Linked DNA regions of Homo sapiens: regions 1, 2, 4 and 5 are each linked to region 3. Evidence: promoter capture Hi-C in 16 types of primary human blood cells and fetal thymus (Javierre and others, 2016). All regions are on one chromosome and are shown on one strand. The core of a region is centred on a gene start or on the middle of the fragment in contact, and the rest is flanking DNA. Distances in the headings are between cores, read along the strand shown. Region 1 overlaps HDGFL3 (HDGF like 3). Region 2 overlaps FSD2 (fibronectin type III and SPRY domain containing 2). Region 3 holds the start of HOMER2 (homer scaffold protein 2). Region 4 overlaps TM6SF1 (transmembrane 6 superfamily member 1). Region 5 has its middle 8.3 kb from the start of SNHG21.

What was found. Contacts are between HindIII fragments. The CHiCAGO score rates a contact against its expected background, and 5 or more counts as called.
Region 1: a contact is called between a fragment that was not itself captured here and the fragment with the promoter of HOMER2 in region 3, in 2 of 17 cell types (neutrophils and megakaryocytes). The highest score is 5.7, in neutrophils.
Region 2: a contact is called between a fragment that was not itself captured here and the fragment with the promoter of HOMER2 in region 3, in 1 of 17 cell types (total B cells). The highest score is 5.2, in total B cells.
Region 4: a fragment that was not itself captured here is called in contact with the fragment with the promoter of HOMER2 in region 3 in 1 of 17 cell types (neutrophils); the score reaches 7.2 in neutrophils.
Region 5: a contact is called between a fragment that was not itself captured here and the fragment with the promoter of HOMER2 in region 3, in 3 of 17 cell types (total B cells, naive CD4 T cells and naive CD8 T cells). The highest score is 7.3, in total B cells.

Annotation. Positions count from the first base shown.
Region 1 is chr15:83,194,085-83,196,784 of GRCh38, forward strand. All of the region lies in intron 1 of HDGFL3 (HDGF like 3), which reads right to left. Among named protein-coding and RNA genes, the nearest start is that of HDGFL3, 12 kb to the right of the region's middle. The HindIII fragment of the contact is 1,678 bases long and covers 525-2,202 here.
Region 2 is chr15:82,759,089-82,761,788 of GRCh38, forward strand. It overlaps FSD2 (fibronectin type III and SPRY domain containing 2), which reads right to left. Exons shown (of 13, transcript NM_001007122.4): 13 at 1-512. The coding sequence ends at 260. Among named protein-coding and RNA genes, the nearest start is that of SNHG21, 9.9 kb to the left of the region's middle. The HindIII fragment of the contact is 4,379 bases long and covers 1-2,700 here.
Region 3 is chr15:82,951,341-82,954,040 of GRCh38, forward strand. It overlaps HOMER2 (homer scaffold protein 2), which reads right to left and starts at 1,380. Exons shown (of 9, transcript NM_004839.4): 1 at 1,191-1,380. The coding sequence starts at 1,195. RefSeq lists an enhancer at 630-1,130. The HindIII fragment of the contact is 1,453 bases long and covers 566-2,018 here.
Region 4 is chr15:83,129,885-83,132,584 of GRCh38, forward strand. The region is part of intron 9 of TM6SF1 (transmembrane 6 superfamily member 1); the gene reads left to right. It overlaps HDGFL3 (HDGF like 3), which reads right to left. Exons shown (of 6, transcript NM_016073.4): 6 at 1-2,700. Among named protein-coding and RNA genes, the nearest start is that of TM6SF1, 24 kb to the left of the region's middle. The HindIII fragment of the contact is 2,039 bases long and covers 428-2,466 here.
Region 5 is chr15:82,740,919-82,743,618 of GRCh38, forward strand. No RefSeq gene overlaps it. Among named protein-coding and RNA genes, the nearest start is that of SNHG21, 8.3 kb to the right of the region's middle. The HindIII fragment of the contact is 255 bases long and covers 1,129-1,383 here.

The DNA of each region.
Region 1 (2,700 bases), core at 114-2,613, 240 kb after region 3:
AGAATGTAGGGTCTTTAAGAGATAGTTGTACATTCATGTTCATAACAGCATCATTCACAATAACCAAAAGGTGAAAAAAACTCAGGTATCCATCAGTGGATGAATAAACAAAATGTTTTACATATACACAATGGGATGTTATTCAGTCTCAAAAAGGAAGAAAATTTGGACATACATGAGCCTCAAGGATATTATGCTAAGTGAAATAAGCCAGTCACAAAAAAACACATACCGTATAATTCCATCTGTATGAGGTACCCAGAGTAGCCCACTCATAGAGACACAAAGTGGAGAGGTGATTGCCAGGGACTAGGAGGCAGGGAATGTAGAGTTATTTTTTAATGGGTATAGTTTGTTTTGCAAGATGAAAAGAGTTCTGGAGATAGAGAGTGGTGATGGTTACAAAACAATGTACTTAATATTACATAAACTATACACTTAAAATGATTATTAAGATGGTATAAATTACATTCTATGTATTTTTACAATTAAAATTTTTTTTTAATTACAATGAGCACATAAAAAGCTTATTCCAAGTCTGGTTTTCACCTTTTCTTTACCTAAAATAAATTCAGGGTTTCTGCCTAATTGTCAAAGTGGTTAGTGTGAATTCCTTATCTCCTTTCACTTCCTCCTGGCATCCTATGGAGATGGGTGCAGACGGCAATGAATTTTAGTGCAGCTCCCTTCCACTTACTTGCTCTGTAACTGAGCAAGTCAGTTGGTAAAAGAGATTAATGCATTTTAGCTTTCTCATCCCTTCGAAAACAACACTGAAAATCATCTTAAATCTTATGTCTCAGAAGGTACTATCATTTAAATTTTCATTAAAGACTTTGAAATTGCCTGCAGGGAAGGAAAAAGCAATAGAACAAAATGTAAAGGAGGGCTCACTCAGGATGCAGTGTTATCTCTTTCTAATGGTAAGACTATATAGTTGTATTACAAATAATGTAGACAGTTCCAAAAACTACATTTCAATATCGTATGACAAAAAAAGCTGAAACCCAGTCTTTTTGTAATAAATTGCCAATTAAAAATGTCTCCATGTATTCTCTTTTCCACGCTCTTTCTTAGTCAGTTTTGGCTCATTCTTGTTCATTTAGTCTAATTGCAAAGATAGAAAAATCCTGTCATCATGTTTCAGACAAATATTGGGCAAAAAACTTGAGGATTGTATTTGTGACTAATTGTATAACAGGTTATTTTAGTTTCTGTTATGTGGAAAGTGTAAAACATTCCAACAAAGGTTTTTTAATGTAGATTTTTTTTTGCACCCATGCTGTTGATTGCTAAATGTAATAGTCTGATCATGATACTGAATAAATGTGTCTTTTTAAAAAAATAAAAGAAAAATATTGTCATCGAGATCTACATATATTGCACTTGTATTCCTCTATGTACATGTTTCTGTTCCTTAATCTATCTCAAGCTCTTTAATGTTAAAATCATGTCTTATTAATTTTTATAATGCTAAGTCTATCACAGTTACTAACCCAGAAGAGATACTCAATAAACACCTAATGAGATTATAATGGTAGAACATTAATGTTACCCAATTCACGTAGTTCTACCTTCACATGGAAATAACTGAAAATTTAAAAAGTAAAAGTTTCAATGACAGAAATTAAGAATGTTATATGCTTAAATGCTGAAAACCAGGTTCTTACAAAATTTGGCAAAGAATGAAAAAAGGGAAAAAAATCTCCTAGGAATGGTTAAAAAAATTAAGTTACATATACTTATATCTTAAAACAAAACAGAAAAGTTTTGAGTAAAATTCTGGATAAAGATGTATTAGTGAAATAAAAGCAAAAATGAAAACAGGTTACAAAACTAATATCCAACGAAGTACTATAACTTATGTGCTAGAAAGTATGAAATAGCAGATCACTATATTTTGACTCCATCCTGAAGTTACAAGTTATACACATTTATGTGCCAAATAAAGCCCTGACATTTATTAAATAAACGGTCAAAAAAAGGGACAGATATGTAGAAATATAATAGATATGTTAGATTTATATACCTCTTCATTTTGGAGAGAGTAGTTGACAAAAAATAAACATTAAGAATTTTAAAAAATATATTAGTAAATATCAATATATTTATATTTGTCCATTATATTTATTGACTTATTTATTAAGTCAATATACTTATTGACTCATTTATTAAGTCAATATACTTATTGACTCCTAAAGAAGCTTTCTTTTCAGGAATACAAAAACCATTTTTTAAAAGTTGATCACATATGAAAAGAACACTAAATGAATTAAAATAGTTAAAAAGGATACATAATCTGACTACAAGATAACCATATTAAAAAACAATAAAGCATTACATACAAACTCTTTAGCCAGTTATAATTCCTAAAATTCTCTCCTAAATATCTCTTGGGCCAACTCAGAAATGAAAATCACAAAACCTATTTTGAAAATGACTATAAAACACCAATTATTCAAATCTACATCATGAAGCCAAATATGACCTGAGGAAAACTAGCTTTAAAAGTTTTCATTTTCAAAAAGATTTCAAAAAAATTAAATAAGACTTTATTTCATTAAGTTTGAAATAGAAGAAAAGAAAAATATACTTGGGGAAAGGTAGTGAAGATGAGATCAGAAATTAATGATTTAGAGAAAAAAATAGAATTGATTAACAAAAAAGGGGGAAACAAAAATCCAAGAGGATTAGAGAAGG
Region 2 (2,700 bases), core at 109-2,608, 190 kb before region 3:
GACTTTTGAGTTCGTTTAGTCTGAGCCTTTATTTTACAGCTGGGCCTGGTAATGACTATCCTAGCAGCACACAGGTAGCAGCACACAGGACTAGAATCCAGGTTGGGTGAAATGAGCGCTAGCACACCAGTCAGATAATAGCATGAGCCATAAATTGTGCTGGGCACATGGTGCTTAAGTGCCAGGTTCAGCCAGCTAAGGCGTGAGCAGCTGCGAGAGGGGTAGGCATGGAAGACAGGAAACTGGACATCAGAATGTTCTAATAGAAAGTGACATGTTTTGGCATTGAAATGCCATTATGTACCTTTAGACACCCAGGCTTTTCCAAAGAAAAACAGGGATGCACAAATTCGTGAAGCTGACAACTAAATGTATATAGATGCTGAGAAAGGTCCACATTGAAAAATGACAACTTTGAATGTTCATAGTCTAATAGAATGCCAATCTTCTTTGGTGGAACTGTTATTCTTATATCTGGAGTTGTTCTGTTGTGCAGAAATTCATACTTATGCCTGAAAATTAAATTTGACATAATAAAGTTTCAGTAATTCTATAGATTGACTATTTATAGAACATTTCATACTAATTTTATTCATAGTCCTATGATTTTGCTATTTTCTAGTATTAAATGACTACCAAGGTGACAAGCCATTTCTAAAACTATACTCTCTAAACTATCTCTTTTCTAAAATTTGTCCTAAGAAACATTTTCTTTTTTTTTTTTAGATGGAGTCTTGCTCTGTCACCCAGGCTGGAGTGCAGTGGTGCAATCTCGGCTCACTGCAACCTCAGCCTCCTGGGTTCAAGCAATTCTCCCACCTTAGCCTCCTGAGTAGCTGGGATTACAGGCGTGCACCACCAAGCCCGGCTAATTTTTGTATTTTTAGTAGAGACAGGGTTTCACTGTGTTGCCCAGGCTGGTCTCGAACTCCTGAGCTCAGGCAGTCCACTTGCCTTGGCCTCCCAAAGTGCTGGGATTACAAGTGTGAGCCACTGCTTCTGGCCGAAACATTTTTCAAACATCATTTTTTCTCTAGCAACCTCTTAACCTAAGAAATTTACCTATAGCATCCTGAACTCTCTTTCATCTAAACTAGCATAGGAATAGAACATGTTTTTAAAATTTGGATTAGACATTTGAAACAGGGAACCTTGTGATTTTCCATGTGATAAAATGGGCTTCTTGGTATAAGCTCTTCTATGCACAGTTACTCCAGTTCTTAAACTTTCATATTGAGTGGGGAGCCAGTGGGCCTGTTACCAATCAATACTATATCACTATCCATGCTCTACATCCTGTGTACTTTGAAAAATGGCAGAAATGAAAACCTGTCACAGGAATTTCCTAACCCTGCTACCTACAGATATTTGAAGAGCTCTTTGTGTCAACAGGCTAGTCTAGGCTACTGGGATAAACACTTGGAATATGATCTAAACGTGTCAGAGGAAGCCTGCCTGTCTCTAGCCCATTTCACCTTAATTTAACTAAGCAGCTGCCAGAAGCTATGAGTCGTTTCTTCTACTTTCTATGCTACCACCAATAAAGTCTAATACTATGAGCCAAAAATGCAAGTCTGCTAGGAGACCTTATCCTAGGATACCTTACCTTCATTCTCCACTTGTAACGTGTGTGCACGTGTGTGCGTGCACGCACACACACACACACACACACCCTACATCTGTAAGAAACTGGCTTGGCTCTAGCACTTGGACTGTAGCTTTTGCCCTTCTTTTGTCATTCTTCTGTTTCCACCCCTCTTCTATTGTGTCTTCTTACCCCCTTTATTCTTCCCTCTACACGTGGACTTCTAGGCTTTCTTTATGCTCCCTTAGTTTTACTCTGCCCCTTGTTCTTGCCTTTCTAAAGAAGAGACTTTGCTCTTTAGTCTTACTTCAGGCAGAATCCCCAAATAAAGTATCTGCCTCAGTGTATAGTAATTCTTGGATTCCCCAAACTGGGTGTGAGGTTTAGTAGATTTCATTAGAGTCTTCATCTGTTATCGGAGGGGAAGTTGGTTTTCCCACTTATGCTTGGGCATGACACATAATGTGTAAATAACCATGATAGAGGATCATGGGCAGAGAGCATTGGATGAACATTAATAGGATTCATCAAATCAAGGAGGGTCAGAGGCCCCATTTTACAAGGTGTGATAGGAAAGCAGTGTGGGGTCTTGTTTTTCAGTTTTTGAGGTGAAGGAAGGTTGTAACCATGGCCTTCTAAGTCTGAAAGTGTATTCATTGGCCTGGGCTTCGTGAGACTTTTTTTCCCACTATATGGAACTACTCCATGTGTAAAGACAGAGTGCCCAGCAGCAGGAGCAAACCAGAATTAGCCATAACTACTAAGCCTCTTGCCCACATTTACTTAAAAAGATGGAACTGGGGCTTCAAAGCAAACTGTATTGGCTTAATACTAAAGGTGAACAGAAATGAAAAATCTATCACTTAAGTGGTTAGGAATGAAATCTTTGGAACCAGACTGCTTGAGTTTGAATCCAAGTTCCAAATCCATGTCGTTTGGATTATCTAATTGCTGTGAGGTGTGGTCTTCTTATTTTTATTCTTTTATTTTATTTTATTTTTTTATTTTATTATTTTTTTTTTTTTAGAGACGGGGTCTTGCTATGTTGCCCAAGCTGGCTTTGAAGTCCAGGGCTCAAACAATACTCCTACCTCACTCTCCTGAGTAGCTGGGAC
Region 3 (2,700 bases), core at 130-2,629:
ATCCCCTCACACACTCTGCAGCTCCCATGGCTAAGACTCACCAGGCAAAATGACTCCAGAAACTTAACCTGGAGTACGGTGCAAGAAAGCCACTGACCCAGGGGGGCTGAGCCAGGGCACCAGGACAATCTTGCTCCTTCCACTGCACTCTTGCCTTCCCAGGCCCCACCCATCCCAAACAGGAAAGCAAGATCTCTAGACCCTTGGAGCAGAAGCATTTGAGTCCTGCGAAGGGCTGTTGGAAGAATGCTGGGTTCAGCAGCAGGGAACAGAGAGATTTAGGAATTCTGGTTCACTTACCCGCCTCCATGCCCACGTCAGGCAGTGGCAAGGCCACCCCTGCTACACAAATGCTCATCAACTACACAGCCTGGGGGAAGTCACCGAACCACTTTGTGCCTCAGTTTCCTCATCTGTAAAGTGGACATAAGTGTCCCCTGAATACGTATGGCAAACCGTCAACGTGTGCCCAAATAGAGTGAGCAGATGTAAGGAGTTATTGTGCTATTAGCACAGTGGCTCCCAGACTCACAGAGCCTACTGCTCAGAGAGACGCCGAGGGGAAAGCTTAAATTACTTTATATACTCAGAAGCATTAGTCACTTCGACAGAGTATTTCAACTTCCCTCCTGAGCATCTACTCAGTTGTTTCAAAGACTGAAGCCTCACCTAGGTTCCTTATAGACTTCCATCATCTTCAGCATCTCAAAGCAGATCCAAAGTCCACTATTCCTACGCTGGAGGTTTATTATTATTTGATTATTTCCAGGAAAACTTCGATTTCCATTTTGCTTGTAATAAATCCAAACGTGGAGAACGACAAACTGCTTAGACTCACACAGGCCCTGGAGTTGACTGCGCCCAGGGGCGAAGAGACCGCGGAATGGCCGAGGCAGGAGGCCGGCCAGGGCACCGGTCCCCGTCAGGTGCCCCCGTGCCCGGGCTGTATGGGAGGGGAAGGGCCACGGGCTCCGCGCCCAGGCCAGGGTGCCCCTGCTGGGTGTCCGCGTGCCCCGGCGGAGGGCGCGGGTCAGGTGGCCCCAGACTCCCGGGCGCAGAGTGTGCGCTCGCTCCGGCTTGGGGAGGCGGGGGCCGGCCCGCCGGGAGGCTCCGAGCCCGGTTACGCCAGCCGCGGCCCCGCAGTCCCTCCGGAGGGGCGCGCGGAGAGCGCGCGGCGCGGGCTCACTCACCCCATCTCCGGCGCTGCTCCGGCGGCCGCTCCGACGGGGCCTCTCGCGCTCGCTCTCCGCCCGCTCGGCAGCCGCTCCCCGCGCGGCACATGCGGCGGCCCGTGCGCGCCCGGCTCAGCCCCGGCGCCGCTCCATTCCGCGGGGCTGCGCGGCTGCCACTGCTGCCACTGCCGCCACCGCCGCCAGGCGCGGGCGGGCGGGGGCTGGGCGGCCGCGCTGGGGCGGTGCCCGCCCCGCCCTCCCCAGCCGCTACCCCCGCCCGGCTCCTTACGTAACCTCGTGGCCCCCGGGCCGCGGCAGCGAGCCAAGAGGCGGGGGGCGCAGCACTGTGTGCACCGTCCCCCGCGCAGCCGCGCAGTCGCCGCTTTTCTCCCGGGCCACCCAGTCCTCGGTGCCGGCCCCGCGTTGGCGCGCCCCCGCCCCACGCCGACCCGGGGCCCTGGCGCAGTGCCATCAACATCCTGCCTGATGGACTTAAAGTCCCATTCACACCTGGCGGGGACTTTAGGGCTACCTTTACTTTGCAGATAAGGGAACCGAGGCCTGGGGAGGGTAAGTGATTTGCCCAAGGTCACACATTCAGATTAGAGTTCGTTCGGGTCTCCAGAGTCTGAGATGGGCATAGCTGTGCTCCTCCTTAAAGCCCACCTTCATCTTCCTGCCAGTTGCCCGGCCGAGTGGCCTTAAGGTACCCGCCACCGTGAAATTTCGGAAGCCAGCCTGGCAGAGAAGAGCCTACAGGCCGCGGCAGATGCTCTGGGCTCTTTCCTGGATAAAAATGAGATGAGGGCTCCCACTTGAAGGGGCAGTTTTAAGGCGGCTTCATCAAGCTTGGTTTTATCCTTAGAGCGAGGGGAATTAGGATGGCAAAAGTAGAACTTGAAGAAGAGCAGGCTCTCTTCGTCGCCTTTCTACCTATCAGGTCCTGAGTTTCTACCAAAGGCTGGCACTGGGACTAACCTAACCTTCATCCCCCGGGACTTCCACGGGATCATCTTCTGCTGGGAACACACCGCCCACATAAGCCTGGCATCTCAGGACAGTAAAAAAGTCAAGGGACAGGTCGGGCGCGGTGGCTCACGCCTGTAATCCCAGCACTTTGGGAGGCCGAGGCGGGCGAATCACGAGGTCTGGAGATCGAGGCCATCCTGGCTAACACGGTGAAACCCCGTCTCTACTAAAAATACACACACACAAAAAAAATTAGCCGGGCGTGGAGACAGGCGCCTGTAGTCCCAGCTACTCCGGAGGCTGACGCACAAGAATCGCGTGAACCTGGAAGGCGGATCTTGTAGTGAGCCGAGATCGCACCACTGCACTCCAGCCTGGGCAACAGAGCGAGACTCCGTCTCAAAAAATAAATAAATTAATTAATTAAATACATAAATAGCCGGGTGTGGTGGCGTGCTCCTGTAGTCCCAGCTACTCCCAGCTACTCGGGAGGCTTGATGCAGGAGAATCGCTTGAACCCAGGAGGCAGGGGTTGCAGCGAGCCGAGATCATGCCACTG
Region 4 (2,700 bases), core at 197-2,696, 180 kb after region 3:
CTGCCTTATTCTCCTGTATCCTTCAGAACAGATGGCCGCATACCCACTTCACTCTTGCCAGCCCTTTCTTTAGAGGATTAGACTGTTCAGTTTGACAGCTGTTCAGTTTGACACCTATTACCTGTGTCAATTGTGCTTTGCCTGCACAATCAGGCCTCCTCTGCCTGCCATGTGCCTGGTCGGCCTGGTACCAGTCCCTGATGCAGGAATGCTAAGTGTCATCAGCCAGCAGGCTGGTTAAAGAGACCAGATGTTGGACCTGGTCAAGTCTCAGGAGACAAATGGAAACAGCAGGAAAACCTAGGCAAAAGCCTAGTCACATGGCCAGGGTCAACAGTCAGGAAGCTTAGGAAGGTCATAGCTTAGAGGAAAATGGGTGTGGTAAGCCTGTAGCAATAAGACAAACCCTAATCTGTTGGTGAAGCTAAGCTTGCAGGTGGGCACTTATTACTCCAGCCAAGTGGTTCTGAGAAGGGCAGTGTGGACTACAGAGCAGCTGGCAGCCGCAGGGGCATTACCTCATTCATGTCAGACGTCAGGCATCCTGGGGCTTATCCATCACTGCCCAGTTGATAAGGCAGCCTGAAGCCCCTCTCTTGATGGTGAATGCCCAGATCCAGAGCCTAAGGCTAAGGACCAGATCCTGTAAATGTCAGAAGGATGTTTCTCCCAGCCCAGCAGGTGAAGACAGACTGAGTAAAGAATTATGGGTCTGATTCCCACAGCTCTTGGCTGAGCTTTAATATCTACCCACTTATAGTGTGTAGGCTAAGGAAAAGTTAGAAGCCATGCCGCAACAAAACAATAGATATGACCAGAATACTGAATTACGTTATTTGTTTTGTACTTAGCAAATACTCGCTTATGAAATGGAGTCTCATCTTATGGGAGTATCTGACACATTCATCACAGAAAGCACTCTCCAGCAAGGCACGGTGGCTCACACCTGTAATCCCAGCACTTTGGGAGCCCGAGGTGGGTGGACTGCTTGAAGTCAGGAGTTTGAAACCAGCCTGGGCAACATGGTAAAACCCCATCTCTACAAAAAATACAAAAATTAGGCTGGCGTGATGGCATATGCCTGCAGTCCCAGCTACTAGGAAGGCTGAGGTGGGAGGATCACTTGAACCAGGAGGCAGAGGTTGCAGTGAGCCGAGACTGTGTCACTGCACTCTCCAGCCCAGGTGACAGAGAGAGACCCTGTCTCTCCCACCACCACAAAAAAACAAAACAAAACAAAAATAGGCATTTTTCTGTAACTTTAATCAGCATCTTTGCTTGCTAAAATTGCCATTCTTATTTAGAAACCTTATGCATTCATGATCCCACTAACTTTACTAAAACTTACTTTTACTGAAACATCTAGTAAACTCTCAAGAATCTATGCAACTTAGTAAGGGAAAAAAAAACCACCTTTGAAAAGTTCTAGATCAGTATAGGCCAATGGAAGAAATATTGAGTAGTGGCCAGGCGCAGTGGCTCACACATGTAACCCTAGCACTTTGGGAGGACCAGGCAGGTGGATCACCTGAGGTCAGGAGTTTGAGACCAGCCTGGCCAACATGACGAAACCCCGTCTCTACTAAAAATACAAAAAATTAGCTGGGTGTGGTGGTGGGCATCTATAATCCCAGCTACTTGGGAGGCTGAGGCAGGAGAATCGCTTGAACCTGGGAGGCAGAGGCTGCAGTGTGCCAAGATCACGCCCACTACACTGCAGCCTGGGTGACAGAGCAAGACTGTCTCAAAAAAAAGAAAGAAAAAAGAGTGAGTAGTTATTGGGGCCTTGATTTCAGACCATGTAGGAGTCTGCCAAATCTGCTGCCTTCAGAAATCAAAAGATCAAGGAAAGAGTAAAAGAAGATTGAATAAAATGAAACCAGGACACATTTTAGACCAAAGAGTTCCACTGGGGACTTACTCATAACCCAGGTATCTTTTCATATAAAATGCTAACCATAGGATTAAAGCTGCAAGTGTAATCTGAAAGGCATTATAGGCTGCTTAGATCCACTTATTAGCATTTCCTATCAATTGAAGCATTTTCTCTGCTAAAATATCAATGAAAATGAAAAAAAGCCAAAGCCAGTAGAGTTCATATAGTTAGGAACATAAGCTCTGGAGGTGAACTGGTTCAGATTCTAGCCTGTTGCTGATGAGCACAATGACCTTGGCTACTTTACCTCTCTGATCCTCAGTTTCCTCTTCTGTAAAGTGAGGATAATAACAGTAGCTTTCTCATGGAATTGCTGTTAGGGTTGGATGAGGTAATACATGTAAAGGGCTTAAAACAGTGTCTGGCACATAACAGCTATGTAACCCTTTGTTGCTACTATTACTGGTAGAAGATTCCCAGTAAGAATTTGGAGATATGCCTTATGTTGTTCCGAAGATTAACCTGAAGACAAACTAATTAAATTAAGTGTATTGTATATAATTACCAAGAAAACAAAGAAACTGGGTGAAAGCTTTGGGACAGACTCACCATGGGCTTGGTAAGGAGCCTGCCATCCCACAGCCAGCGAAGGAGGTTCAGTTACTTCAGTCAGGTGCTGCCCTCAGACTCTCTAACTCCCTGGCTATGTAGGTGCTATGTCATGTCTTTTTCTCACAAAGAGATATGGAAACTTACGTGTGAATAATTTGGTTGTGAAGAGTTTACTGAAGTAAATTTATCATTTTTTTTTTAACTTGAGACAG
Region 5 (2,700 bases), core at 6-2,505, 210 kb before region 3:
GTAGCTGGGATTACAGGCGCCCAACACCACACCTGGCTAATTTTTGTATTTTTAGTAGAGATGGGGTTTCACCATCTTGGCCAGGCTGGTCTTGAACTCCTGAGCTCAGGCAATCTGCCCTACCTCAGCCTCCCAAAGTGCTGGGATTACAGGCGTGAGCCACCACGCCTGGCTAATTTTTGTATTTTTAGTAGAGATGGGGTTTCACCATGTTGGCCAGGCTAGTCTTGAACTACTGAGCTCAGGCAATCTGCCCTACCTCGGCCTCCCAAAGTGCTGAGATTACAGGTGTGAGCCACAGCGCCCAACCAGTGAATGCTTGATGAGCTTGTTTTTGCCTTGTTAAAATTGAAAACATGATTTATCATCTCACCCTCCTAAGTTTCATTAAAATCATACTTAAGAAATAAAAAGAGACATAAAGATATAAATAAGAGAATGGGAAAAGAAACATAAAGATCTAAACAAGAGAATGGGGAAAAGATCATTAGTAGATCAGAGATTTCAAAGAAATTTTGGAAGATAGCTGATGAAGGAATGATACTGATGCGGGGGGGAAGCAGAAGAAACTGCAGAGGGTGGAAGATATACCCCAGGAAAAAAACAATTCACACTACGGAATGCTAGAAGGGTCCAGAACCAGGAAATATCAGAGACAACTGAGTACAGGAATGAGATATAAGGCCAAGATTCCACATATGAAACAGTTTTCCTTCCCTTCCACCTCTGCATGCAGAATGCCTTACAGCCAAGAATCTACCCCCAGGGTGAAGGTGTGATAGGAGGAACACAGACCATCCAGAATTTCCCATACATTCACACATCACGCTGAAACGTTATTCTGGAAATAAATCTAAGGGCTCCGTAGAAAATCCCCTGCATTCTACCCATTACAGTAAAATGTCAGCATTCCTGTCCCATCATCTTGGCCATCAGAAAAGTTCCACACAAGAGAGCTCGTAATCCACTTATTACTTCATTAAAAAATATAAACAGTCAAGACCCCCCCACTCCAGACATTTGAGGAATACTTCCAATGTGAAATAAAGATGGGTGAGATCACGCCACTGCACTCCACCCTGGGCAACAGAGCAACACTTTGTCTCAGAAAAAAAAAAAAGAAAGAAAAGCTTAACGAACTGACATAATTTTTCTTAAATCCAGAAGAAAAGTGAGGTCACAGGGCAAACCACTATCCCCAAAATTGGAGAGGCAGACAGGTATGTACAAAAGTCACAAGCTACCCAGAGCAGAAATCTCCACAAAGGAACCAATGCCAGGGCAGAAAAACATGAACTGTAATTGAATTGCCAGAGGCAAGTGTAGACAAGTCTGAGAGTCAAAAATTCCAGAAGAAACCAGAAACAGGGGAGGGAGAACCCAAGCTTCTGTGAGTTTTACCTCCAAGAGTTTGACCAGGTTCTCACAATAAATATTAGAGAAAAATCTTGTCATGCTTCTAGCAGGAGAAGAAGAAAAAGAACCATTTCGAAACATGCCAGAGCATGCTGTTCTTAACAAAGTCTGCCCTCGGGAGAAATATTTAATCAGAGCCTAAATGGCTGGAGTTTTATCAGAGCCTAACTGGCCTGGGAGAAGGGAAAAATGCCCAACGCCAGCCCACTCTGGCCATCTTGTCCCACCTAAGGGGGAAGAAAAAAACTGAGAAGCACTTGTAAAGTTCACATTCCAGAAGCACATGCTCACTAAAAGACTGAGACCTAATCATAGGGTTCATAGAGGAATACTTTCCCTCTCCCCACACCTTACCCCCACATTACTAAAGGCCTATTTGCAGCAGTTCCTTTTCCCTGGTACATCCTGTCCAGCTATGAAGAAAAAATTACAAGGCAAACTAAAAGGCAAAACACACATTTTGAAGAGACAGAGCAAGCATCAGAACCAGACATGGCAGGAATGTTGGAATTATTAGACAAGAAATTTTAAACAACTTTGATTAATATACTAACAGCTTTAATGGGTAAAGTAGACAGCATGCAAGAACAGATGGTCAGTGTAAACAGAGAGATGGAAATCCTAAGAAAGAACCAAAAAGACGCTGGGAGCAGTGGCTTACACCTATAATCCTAACACTTTGGGAGGCCGAAGTGGGGCAGATTGCCTGAGCTCAGGAGTTCGAGACCAGCCTGGGCAACATGGCGAAACCCTGTCTCTACTAAAAATACAAAAAAATTAGCAGGGGGTGGTGGTGCGTGCCTGTAGTCCCAGCTTCTTGTGAGGCTGAGGCACAAGAATCTCTTGAACCCAGACCCAGGAAACAGAGGTTGCAGTGAGCCGAGATCATGCCACTGCATTCCAGCCTGGGTAACAGTGAGGCTCTATCTCCAAAATAAATAAATAAACAAAATAAAATAAAAACAAAAAAGAACCAAAAAAAATGCAAGAGATAAAAAACACTGTGAATAGAAAATGAAGAATGTCTTTGATGGGCTAATAGACTGGACATGGTGAGGAAAGATATGATATATGATGATATATCAACAGAAACCTTTTTTTTCTTTTTTTTTTTTTTTTTTGAGATGGAGTCTCACTTCATTGCCTGGGCTGGAGTGAAGTGGCGTGATCTCAGCTCACTGCAACCTCCACCTCCCAGGTTCAAGCAATTCTCCTGCTTCAGCTTCCCAAGTAGCTGGGACTACAGGCGCATGATGCCACGCCCGGCTAATTTTTTGTATTTTT